Linked DNA regions of Homo sapiens: regions 1 and 2 are each linked to region 3. Evidence: promoter capture Hi-C in 16 types of primary human blood cells and fetal thymus (Javierre and others, 2016). All regions are on one chromosome and are shown on one strand. The core of a region is centred on a gene start or on the middle of the fragment in contact, and the rest is flanking DNA. Distances in the headings are between cores, read along the strand shown. Region 1 overlaps NPHP3 (nephrocystin 3). Region 2 overlaps NPHP3 (nephrocystin 3). Region 3 holds the start of COPB2 (coat protein complex I subunit beta 2).

What was found. Contacts are between HindIII fragments. The CHiCAGO score rates a contact against its expected background, and 5 or more counts as called.
Region 1: a contact is called between a fragment that was not itself captured here and the fragment with the promoter of COPB2 in region 3, in 1 of 17 cell types (total B cells). The highest score is 6.4, in total B cells.
Region 2: a contact is called between a fragment that was not itself captured here and the fragment with the promoter of COPB2 in region 3, in 1 of 17 cell types (M2 macrophages). The highest score is 6.2, in M2 macrophages.

What each region holds. Positions count from the first base shown.
Region 1 is chr3:132,717,268-132,720,989 of GRCh38, forward strand. NPHP3 (nephrocystin 3) reads right to left here. Exons shown (of 27, transcript NM_153240.5): 2 at 2,438-2,563; 3 at 1,727-1,877. NPHP3-ACAD11 (NPHP3-ACAD11 readthrough (NMD candidate)) reads right to left here. Exons shown (of 45, transcript NR_037804.1): 2 at 2,438-2,563; 3 at 1,727-1,877. Among named protein-coding and RNA genes, the nearest start is that of NPHP3-AS1, 2.6 kb to the right of the region's middle. The HindIII fragment of the contact is 846 bases long and covers 1,060-1,905 here.
Region 2 is chr3:132,686,729-132,690,588 of GRCh38, forward strand. It overlaps NPHP3 (nephrocystin 3), which reads right to left. Exons shown (of 27, transcript NM_153240.5): 19 at 3,800-3,860; 20 at 2,346-2,535; 21 at 1,922-2,163; 22 at 423-498. NPHP3-ACAD11 (NPHP3-ACAD11 readthrough (NMD candidate)) reads right to left here. Exons shown (of 45, transcript NR_037804.1): 18 at 3,800-3,860; 19 at 2,346-2,535; 20 at 1,922-2,163; 21 at 423-498. Among named protein-coding and RNA genes, the nearest start is that of UBA5, 28 kb to the left of the region's middle. The HindIII fragment of the contact is 1,194 bases long and covers 1,847-3,040 here.
Region 3 is chr3:139,387,252-139,391,262 of GRCh38, forward strand. COPB2 (coat protein complex I subunit beta 2) reads right to left here and starts at 2,396. Exons shown (of 22, transcript NM_004766.3): 1 at 2,297-2,396. The coding sequence starts at 2,299. It overlaps COPB2-DT (COPB2 divergent transcript), which reads left to right and starts at 2,552. Exons shown (of 5, transcript NR_121609.1): 1 at 2,552-2,682. It also overlaps the pseudogene LOC124906339. RefSeq lists enhancers at 2,074-2,323, 2,120-2,681, 2,614-2,913, 2,682-3,244, 3,124-3,233. The HindIII fragment of the contact is 7,530 bases long and covers 1-4,011 here.

The sequences.
Region 1 (3,722 bases), core at 233-2,732, 6.7 Mb before region 3:
AACCTCAAAGGCAGACTGTTACTAACACACATAAATATAAAAATATTCATAATTTATTAGGACATAAACTCTTTGCAGCAGGAAGTACCTCCTTCTCAACCTCCTAGAGCAACAAAATTAATGTCTGAATCAATAGCTACTTATGAACATGATGATTTTCTAATCAATTATATTTGTCAGAATATCTACATCCTTGATAACCTTAAGTAAATGGTTATTTGAGCTAAATCTCTGGCAAAACTGAGCTTACTATTTGTAGCTCTTTGAATCTCACATGGGTGACATTCCCCCTCAAGTGTTCCTTCTTCATGTTTAAAACAAAAATGAAAAAAGACCTAGAAAGGAATTTGTTTCTAACTTGCCAAGACAATTACAATAGTTTTGAAACACTGTACATTTGAGTATGTCAATACTGAAATAATCACTAAGACTTGTGTTGGGGTATAAAAGAGCATTTTCTCAGCTACTCTTGGCCATTAAGAATCTTTTTTTTTTTTTTTTTTTTTTTTTGAGATGAGTCTGGCTCTGTTGCCACACTGGAGTGCGGTGGCGCGATCTTGGCTCACTGCAACCTCCACCTCCTGGGTTCAAGTGATTTTCCTGCCTCAGCCTCCCGAGTAGCTGGGACTACAGGCACGCACCACCATGCCCAGCTAATTTTTGTATTTAGTAGAGACGGGGTTTCACCATGTTGGCCAGGATGGTCTTGATCTTTTGACCTCGTGATCCGCCCGCCTTGGCCTCCCAAAGTGCTGGTATTACAGGCATAAGCCACCGTGCCCGGCCTTCATTTTTTTTCCTTAAAAGTTAGCAATAAAAATTCCAGGATGTTGGTCAGATTCCAATGATACTACAATGAAAATTAAGAAGGAACTGTCAGTTACCATATTTTACTCCAAAATGCATCCATTTGTGAGAATATACTTACAGTTCATTACAAATGGGAGAGTGACTACATTTTTCCACTGCATTTTAAAATAGAATATTTTTCTTTTTTCAGTATCAATCACACTTTAACATTTTCTTAGAATATGTAAACCCTTTCACTCTGTGATTTCAAGCTTTTATTTCCAGAAAACATGTTTCATTTGTTTAATTATAAAACAAATACTTTTTGAATAGTTCACAAGGCTATACTGGAAACCACTCAGTGAACTATAAGGCAAGTATTCTAAATGATAGTTGCAAAGAATACATCATTATGTAAAGAAATAACATTGCAGAGACTAGTAACTCCAATATCCATTCTCCTCTTCTTTCTTCAGTAACAGAACACTACATTTTAGTTGGACACATGTCTGCCTGGCTGCTGATTACACTATCCAGTCTTCCCAGTTATAGTTCTGACTAATGGGATTTGAGAAGTGATCTTAGGTTGTACCTTCTGGGAAAGGAACGTGTTCTCCCCTTCCTTCTTTCCCTTGGCTAAAATGCAGATGTGCTGGTGGGAGCTGGGGTAGATATCTTAGACTAGAGAGTAAAAGTTATGGGTTAGGGTTGGCAGAGTGACAAGGTAGAAGGAACTTCAGTCCCCAAATTCATACACTTCGTGGAGAAGAGGTGTCTTAGCAGCTGACAGAGAGAACACACGACACTATTTGCAACAGTAGTTAAAGCAATAACCTAATATAGATAAGTAAAAGAAATCTAGCAGAATTCAAAGTTGGCTCTACATGTCATTACAGCCATGTTGAAAGCTCAAAATATAAATAGGATATACACTTACCAGTGACATCTGTACAGTTGTCATCTGAATCAGACTCCCCAGGATCAAATACTTGGATACCCTGAGCCTGTAGCCTCTGAAGTTTGCTCTCCAACTCCCTCTTGGCCCTCAGTAAGTCCTGAATTTCATTTTCTTTGGTCTCCCTAAAAATCTTTAAAAAGAATAATTTTAATGTTGAAAGCTTTTTCATAATCAAAAAGTTGTGTCATCAACTTTAAGGGAAAAATATTTCATTCATAAAACCAATATTCATTTGGTCCTCGATTTCCTCTTTCATAGGGTGAATGTCCTAGTACCTTTACCTTACTGTTTTGCAACTGGAAGCCACTGGAATTCCAGCAGGATGCGTGTCTGTGGTGTGGGTCTGTCATGTGCACTGCATGATGTTTAGGAAATTTGTCTCTCTCCCACTAAATACCAATAATACAACATCCCTAAACATTTCCAAATGCTTTTCCCCATATGGAAACGCTTTCCTTTTTTTCGAAATTACTATTAAAATGTTCACTTTCATACGTTTTTCTTTGAAATGATCTCAAGTTTACCACGTCCAACTCAAAAATGTGAAAGTGCTCTACACTAATTCTTACAACTTTCCTGAATCCTACATGACTTACTTCTATTTATTCATCGCATTATATATTATATATACTTTTAGAATATACTATTTTATTCTATGTTGCTTTGGGGGTAAAAATGTAAGGAATTTACCTTGAATTGCCTTTTAACTTTATCTCTGTCATGTTCAAATGTTGCTGCTCTCTCCATTGCTTGGTATTTCGCTTCTAAAGCACTTTCTTTTTCTCGAAGTATCTTCTGATACGTTTTTTGAAGTGCCTAGAATAATTTACCTTGTTATTTCCTAACAAAAATAGTCTTGCTCCTCAATTTTACATTCTTATATATATACATATATATATATATATGTTACGTATCTTAGAATTTTAAGTCTACTTATTATTTTACCAATTATCAGGAACTTCATGTTGCCATTTTATTCAAAACATGATGGAAAAAAACCGCAACCATGCTTGAACTACCACAAATAAAGACCAACATTAAGCTTTCAATGGAAATTAACTTTTTTTGAAACACTGCATCAGCTCTTAAACTTCCTTATGCCTTTTCCATCTTTGTGATAGTAAAAATTACATTTTGTAAGGCTTAACTTGAAGGATAAGTAGTTCTAAGAGACTGTGTGCCTGTTGGCACTATGTCTTATTCATCTCACCATCCCTTGAGCACTTCACAGTGCCTGGTACACTGCAAGTCTCCAGTAAATGTCTGACACAATGAATGAAATAAATATGGATAAGTTTTTTCATGCCTCGATATGTGAGAAAGGAACCAGTATGTTTCACAGGGAATCAGGATTGGTGACATGAGTGACTGTGACACTTGCCAACCCTTATTGCACTCCGCCCTGTTTGGTTTGGCCTTTTCTACCCCCACCTCACAGTTGTTTCCAACGTGCGGTGTCTGTTGGGCAGTGGCTTGGATACATTGAATCAGATATTTGAAATGCACTAGTCCATTTTATACATGCAAGTGCATTAAGGTTGCCCAGTAGGAAAACTGATAAGACAACAGATAAACTGCTACACGGACTTCTTCCCAGACAACGACAATAATTACACAACAGCTAATGAGGGAGTTTAAAAACAAAAACAACAACAACAACAACAACAAAACCTGACTAGAAGAATGTCTAGTCTTGAAGACAGGAGGCTTTTTTTCTTTTAGAAAAATCAGTCTGAGGTATTTATTTCACCCCGACTGTAACGACTCCGGGAACTCTTAGGCTGCCTATAAGTCTCTCCCACAGTAAAGAGTACACAAACGACACAACAACGACCAGAGGGGCCCCAAACTGAGGGCAAAAAGTTTTAGAGATTCGTTCACAGAAAAGCAACCTCTTGCTTTATACTATTTTTTTTTTTTTGATACGGAGTCTCGCTCTGTCACCCAAGCTGGAGTGCAATGGTGCAATCTCGGC
Region 2 (3,860 bases), core at 1,194-3,693, 6.7 Mb before region 3:
CACAGCATTTTAAATTAAAGAAATATGCTACATTTAGATTTTATCAGCAACTTAAAAAAATTAAAATAACTTTTATTGTGTATTTGAGGGGAAGGCTTTCTTCACATTTGAACATAACACAAAATGTTAACTAAATTTATTTTATTCCTTTTTCCAACCCTTTAAAGAACTGAGGTAGCTTTAAATTCCGTCTTTCAAAATCTAACCTTCAAATGAATTTAGAGTTCCACTTTTTAAAGTCTAAATTGTACTTCTCAGTAATATGATATTTTAACACATAAATAAGAAAATGTTAAGTAGTTCTCTTCTAAAAAACTAGAAGATTTTAAAATCTAAAGCTCTTAAACATGTGGGGTGTATGCATTTATGATGCTCTTTTCCTCTTACGTTCAAAACACAACACAAAAGAAATCTCTCCTTACCAAGTTGCCTTTTTTCTTTATAGCTTTCTGATGAATTTTAAAGGATTTTTTCCTAAAATGTTCAGCTTGTTCATATCTTAAAAAAAAATTACAGTAAGTCAAACAAAAGAAACATATTCAAAGTATACTTCAGTGAAATGAAAGCACTCTTTTCATAGTGTAAAGTCTTTTTGGGCTATTAAATACAGCATTTTTTCTAGAAATGATAGTCATGACATTAAGAATCTCTAAAAACCCTTTCATAAAACAAAATATGACAAAACACTAAGATATCTTAGTCTATCATGGATGTTTTTCTAATAAAAAGTTCTGTTCAATTAAAAAAATTTTGACAAAACAAAGCAAGTCTAGTCCTTTAAGTAGCTGACATCTGATCATCTTTAACTAATTTAACTCATCCTAAGTCTCTGAAGGGCAACCTAACTAAATGAAAAGTCAAAATTTCAGTTTTCTATAGCACACTAATAATTTTTAATTAACAACTTTTTCTGCACAGGCTAATTTCTGGTCAAGTTTAAATGTGAAATTCACACAAAATTTGTACGAAGCAATACTTCTATAAGTTAAAAAATTCCATTATGTATCACTTATGATAGAGCAAAAGAAATAATTTTTAATAGAGGAAGAGATGCCATTCATTGGGTGCCTGATAGATAAGAAAGACTTTTTATTATACCAGAGATTGGCTTTTTCTATAACGGGCTAGAGAGTTAATATTTTAGGCTTTGTGGGCCGTGTGCTTTCTGTTCCAAGTGAGGAACTCCGCCACTGAAGCACAGAAGCAACCATGGATAATATATACATGAAAAAAATTTGGCTGTGTTCCCTTTAAACCTTATTTACACAACTGGACTTGGCCTATGGGCAATGGTTTGCTGGCCCCATAAAGGTTGAACATCCCTAATCTGAAAACCCAAATTCTGAAATGCTCCAAAATCAGAAGCTTTTTGAGTGCTGTCATGATGCCACAAGTGGAAAATTCTGCACCTGACCTCAAGTGATGGGTCAACTCAAGCCACAGTCAAAACTGTGTTTTATGCACAAATTAAAACTAGTACACAAAATTACTTTCAGGCTATGTGTATAAGGTGTATATGAAAAATACATTTCATGTTTAGACTTGGGTCCCATCCCCAAGATATCTCATTATATATATGCAAATATTCTGAAATCTGAACAAATCCAAAATCCTGAACATTTCTGGTTCCACATTTGGATAAAGGATACTAAACCTATATTAGTAAAGCACTCAAAGTTAGTCAGTGAATGAGCCAGGATTCAAACCCAAGACTATATGACTCGAAAGTCCATGTTCTATCCTTCATGCATCTTCAAACAGAGATGAATCTTATAGTTCTCATTTTCTCTGTTTACCACATGAAGACTAGGCACAGGGTAAGGAAAAGTACACAGTGATAAAACAAAGCTTACCCTATAAGTACACTAAAACTGTAATCCCCCTGCATAAAATCAGGTATTACTGATCTAAAAAATCTTACTTATTTTGTTTCTGGTACAAAGTTGCAAGTGCTTCAAGTTCACGAGCAGTATATGGATGGTCCGCACCATAAGCATTTTCTGAGATTTCCAACGCCTGTTTATACAGTTGTTCTGCATTGCCAAACTTCTTCCACTGCACGTATACACTTGCTAGTTGGTGGAGGGACTGGGCTACTCTTGGGTGATCGGGATCTAAAGCTGTTTCTCGAATCTCTAAAGACCTCTGCAAAGGTACTATGGCCTGGGGGGAAAAGGGGTGAAAGGCCAGTTAAAGTGAGTGAAATGCTGCAAGATCTGTCATCTGATTAAATATTAAGGATTATAGCACAACAAATGAAAACCACATTAACATCTTGGAAAAAGAGAAGAGTGAACACAAAAATCCCACCTGTCTCTGGCTTGCCATTGATCTGCTGAGCTTACCTGACTGAGAAGGCCTAGATCCTTGAGAAATCGCCCCAAGGTTTCATAAAGATCAGCTAAGCAACTCATGTTGTCCTCGCCTTCGCAGTTTTTCTCATACTGCTTCAATGAATCGAAGTATTCTGTTGCCATTGCACTTTTGTCTTTGCCAACAAACTGCCAATAACTCAGCAACTCAGCAAAGTGTCCCCTGTTTCAACAAATAACAGTACTTTAATGAAAAACACACTTTAAAATCCATTACAGAATCAAAACTCCAGAATTAATATCAAGTTATTGACAATTTATTAGTAGGCGAGTACTGTGTAATGAGGTAAGACTCAGACCACTCACTATCTGAATTCCACCACTATCCTAGCTATGTAATCTTGAGCAGGTTATCTGACCTCTTAGACCTCATCACCTTCATCTGCAGAAATGGAGACACTACCTGCCTCAGCTGGTACTGTAGGGGGATTATGGCACACAGTAAGTACTCCACGGTGTTGGCTGTTATCCTTAATACCATCATGGCTACTTACCAATGGGAATCTATCTGAATCCTTTTTACACATTTCACAATATGGAGCCAACCACTGAGTTCACTCCCAAAATTATTTTAAGTATGGAAATTCAAAGAGAAGAAACTAATAAAAAATAAACTGTCACAGAGTATCTACTTTGTATTTTCATCAAGAAATTGAATGACAAAAGTAAGCTTATTCATCTGTAGGCGATCTTAAGTAGTATGGGGCTGGTAAACTAAAAAATATCTGATTTCAAAGGAATCATGAAAAATTGGAATGGAGATCAGAAATAAGAGATGCAACAAATTTGAGAGAGTTTATGTAGGAGCAAAATAAATTATGATACTTATTGTATAAGAAATGTCTAAATCTCTAAGTAAGGCAGAAAAAAACCCTCATGAAGCTTAGTAGGTTAGACAGTTGCCTCATAAAAAGGTAGTTCTGCCACTGACAAACTATAACATATCAAAAGAGACAAACAGAATACATTTTTGAATTAGGGTAATTCTTTCTTTAAATTCAACACCAGACATAGAAAGTAAACAAACAAACAAAAACAAATAAATTCAACACCAGACAGATTCTACTTGGACCCGAGTCTGGTTTGAAGGCTACGCTTTCAGATATCTGAAGGCCCAAAGAAGCAGACATTACGAACCACCTCTCTGAGTGGTTTAAATTTAGACATGCTTAAATGTAAGCATAAGATAAAAAGTTGAACCGAAATCATTCCAGCTCTGATTTCATAAAGCAGCAGTACTCTATGTTTTCCTCTTGGGAAAAGCAGATCTAATAGAGATTTGTAAATTGTCTCAAGATTTCTCCTACACTATTTGTATTTCAGATACTTAGACTAATTTTTAAATTAAAAATACCATTTTTTCTTTGTTAAACTGAACAACTTTAAATCTCTCTTTCTGGGGAAAGATGTTCTATAATGTTTCTTACCTTTTATAAAGGTTTTGAGACACAAAGAGATTAAGAAGGCAATCATGCAGCTTCTGTTTAC
Region 3 (4,011 bases), core at 1,146-3,645:
AAGGAAAGAAAAGAAAAAGAAAAGAAAGAAAAGAAAGAAAGAACGAACAGGCAAGGGTTCTTGTGATAATATTTCTCCCAACAGTTAAGTGACTATTTTGAATAAGACAATGTACTAGGTACTTTGGGACAAAGATGATTAGGATGCTCACACTGTATCCTCAACTTTAAATATATCCCTCCACCTTCCAAAAGCTGGATGCATTTAGGACTCAGCTTAAATGCCACTGCCACCAGTAAGACCTTTCTAGTTACCCTAGCCTGAAGCATTCTTTCCTAGGGAATCCTATAGGATTTCATTTTAACTGTTCATGGTACACTTGTGTACACATCTTTTCTTGCTTTCTAGAGTAGATCCTCCTTAAAGCCAGGGTCATTGCTTATACATGTCTTTATCTCCAGATCACCTTATATATTTGAGTATGGGGGTTTAAGAACAGATACCATAACACAAGACTAGAAAGCCATGATGGATTTAAATTTCAGTTCCACCACTCATTTCAGATGTGCAATAGTGGGCAAATTTACTTAACCTCTTTCAAGTTTGACTTATGTAAAACAGGAATATTATTATTATCTACCTCTTAGTGCTGTAAGAATTAAATTCAGAGTTAGCCAGTTAGAGCAGTGCCTGACCTACAGTAACCACTTCACAAACATATAACTCTATCTCCCAGCTGCTGTGAGAATTAGGCAGCCATGTTTAGCAAAGTGCATGGCAGACACTAAATATTCTATGGTAAATGTACAAATGAATGAATTCACGTTTTGTATTTTCCACAAAGGATTTAAAATATATAAAGAATGAAGGCAATATTTCATTATAGAAATACACTGGTAAATGTAAAGACGGCAAAAGAAAATGAAATTAGGCAGATCCAAGAGCCTTTTCCAAAAACGTCCATTACTGCAACCACAGCAGACCCAAACTACATCAGGTAGTTAGTAATACGAAGTGCTCTAATTAAGAGGCTTGAGGTCTTGTTCAGGGACTGTAACCTGGGTGCCCAAGAAAGTCCACGGATAGTGCTAGCTTCGGCAGCACATAGAGAGGAGATTAGCGTGGCCCCTGCGCAAGTATGACACGCAAATCCGTGAAGCGTTCCATATTTTTTATAAAACAAATTAAAAAAAAAAAGAAGGTCCATGGATTGTGGGGGGGGGTGTCTGTGAATGAATGCACTGAATTTTATGCAAAAATGTTTGTTTCTCTGTGCATTTTCCCTGGGAGTATTCCTAACTTTTTCCTAGTTCCAACTTTGCCACAATTAACCTTGTAGAAACATAATTTAAAAAAATTTTTTAACTTAAGATGAGGGACTTAATCCCTAGCGTCTTCAAGCTCCAAAATGTTTGATTCTGTGCTTCATAACAAGTTTTTTTTTTTTTTTTTTTGAGACGGAGTCTTGCTCTGTCCCAGGCTGGAGTGCAGTGGTGCGACCTCGGCTCACTGCAGCCTCTGCCTCCCGGGTTCAAGCGATTCTCCTGCCTCAGCCTCCTGAGTAGCTGGGACTACAGGGGCCCGCCACCACGCCCGGCTAATTTCTTTTTTTTTTTTTTGCATTTTCAATAGAGACGGAAGATATTCTTATACTATCGTTTTCTTTCCTTATTATTATAACACTCTTGTGCAAACTAGTCTAGGGCGTTTTTTAGGGTTACGGTGATAATAACAAAGTGCTCTAACAATTACTATTCTTACCAGCCACTGGATTTGCAAATGCATAAAAGCACACCAGCCAGTGTTATAAACAGCACCCCCTTCCTCCCAACCCTTCTTCTCCCCTTAGAAACCTAACAGCTGAGATATCAAAGCATTTGAAATTCCATTTTTGACTCCATATACATTTGTTTTTGGCTTCTTTGCTTGTTTATAGTTTGTAGCCAGCACACACTATCCCCAGAATAAGCCCAACAGGAGTGTAGATTAACTACCACCGTTTTAAAGGCAAACTTTAGTTTTACCAAAGCCTCCTACGGAGTTCAACACATTCGGCTTCTGTGTTTCCCTACACCACCGATCCCGCTGCAGACTGCAGGAGCTCTGGCAAGCGCCACAAGCGCCAGGGGAGACAAAACCCCTCACTAGCAGGCTTTGCCTCCCCAAATCACCCCGGTCCCCTAGGCCCCACCGCCTTCTCCCTTCCTGGAATCAAACGACCAAGACCCCGCAAGGCCTGAGGCGGCGGCCGCAGCGGGAGCCCAGACCACTGCTTACCGCGGCCCTCAGTCCAGAAGCTCCAGGAATCGGCCGTAACCTATGGGACCCCGCTCCCTTCTACGGGATCTGGACCTACCATGGCTGCGTCGGTCCAATCCCGGGAACCCTCGTTTGTTACCGGCTACTCAGGCCTTGAGATAAACCCACCGATCCACTGACCGTCAGACTGACTGACGTGGAACTTCCGGGAGCCGATTCTCGCGATAGTCAGAGGCCAGGGCCGGAGCGCCTGCGCAAACTGCGCGCAGGGCCGTCGTTTCCCAAGCCCCGCCCCAGTTTCCTAGGCAACGTGGCCTTCCAGACCGCTGGTAGTGGACTTGAGGCTGTCGGGAAGGAGGGGTGTGGCCTAGACCACTAAGGGCCGTGACGTGGTGCCGCTGAGCTTGGACCCCGACCAGAAGATAGAGATTGAAACGATGAGGAAAACGAAGTGCCTAATCCCCGCTGGACGCTAACTGCAGGGCAAGCTCCCCAGTGTTGTAGTTGTGTTTCGGAGGCCGAGAACCGCTATCGGGCTTCCTCGGACTCTGGCCCTGGAGGGGGGAAACGGCGAGGGAGAAGGCGAAACGAGTCTCCAGTGTGTTCTTGGGGCCTGGTGCGAGGCCCAGAGAATTCTCTGCAGGCCTTTGCCCGGGCACTGATTAAGGCTGCGAAGAGACGCACCGGGCTGCGGGCTTAGTAGCTTCAGGCTTCTGAAGTCAGAGGGAGGGCTGAGAGCTTACACTTCTGGAGCTCCCCGGGAGACGGCAACTACCCAACCGTGTGGGTGTGTTTGTGTATGTGTCTTTTGTTGAGCTTCGGCTGGCTGTGTTATTCATTCAACAAATATTTATCGATCTTCGGCAGTGTGTCAGACATACCTTCTTCTCAAATCTTCACATCAAACCTGAATTATCTCCATTTAATGATGAGGAAACTCGGGCTCAAAGAAGTTAAGTGTTCTAGCCAAGACTGCATAGTAAGTGGCAGATAAAACCTCAAAGTTGGGCCGGGCGCGGTGGCTCACGCCTGTAATCCCAGCACTTTGGGAGGCCGAAACGGGTGGATCACCTGAGGTCAGGAGTTCGAGACCAGCCTGGCCAACATGGTGAAACCCCGTCTCTATTAAAAATACAAAATTAGCCTGGCGTGGTGGCGGGCGCCTGTAATCCAAGCTGTTCCAGAGGCTGACAGGAGAATCGCTTAGAACCCAGGAGGTGGAGGTTGCAGTGAGCTGAGATCGCGCCACTGCACTCCAGCCTGGGCAACAGAGCAAGACTCTGTCTCAAAACAAAACACCTCAAAGTTTGTGCTCTTTCTACTACATAAAAATATCTCTTCATTAATGTGGCTGAATTCTAAGGGCCTGTGCCATAGGGGTTACACTACACAATAAAGTTCGAGAACATTTGCCTGTCACACGCACTGCACATCTCCTGTATTTCCTTTTTTTTTTTTTTTTTAAGAAAACATGTGGACCATAGAAAACTTGCCCTCTGGTTACACGTACAAACGTGTATTTTTAACTTGAGAGAAATCTTAAAGTCTTTTCAGACCTCCAGATTTTCAGAAAGGCAAAAAGAAAAATTATGTATTTGTGTGTGTAGATAATGATAATCAGAGGGAGATGATTTTGCACGAAATTATTTGGCTTTAGTAGGAGCCTTGAGCTAATGTGACTCTCTTCATGGGCCTCAGTTTTCATCATCTTAAAAAAAATCCAGCTACATGGTTTCTAAAGATCCTTCCATTTTTTTTTTTTTTATGTTTCTGTGGCATTCAATAGTGGAAAAAAGAGTCTGGAACTGGAGT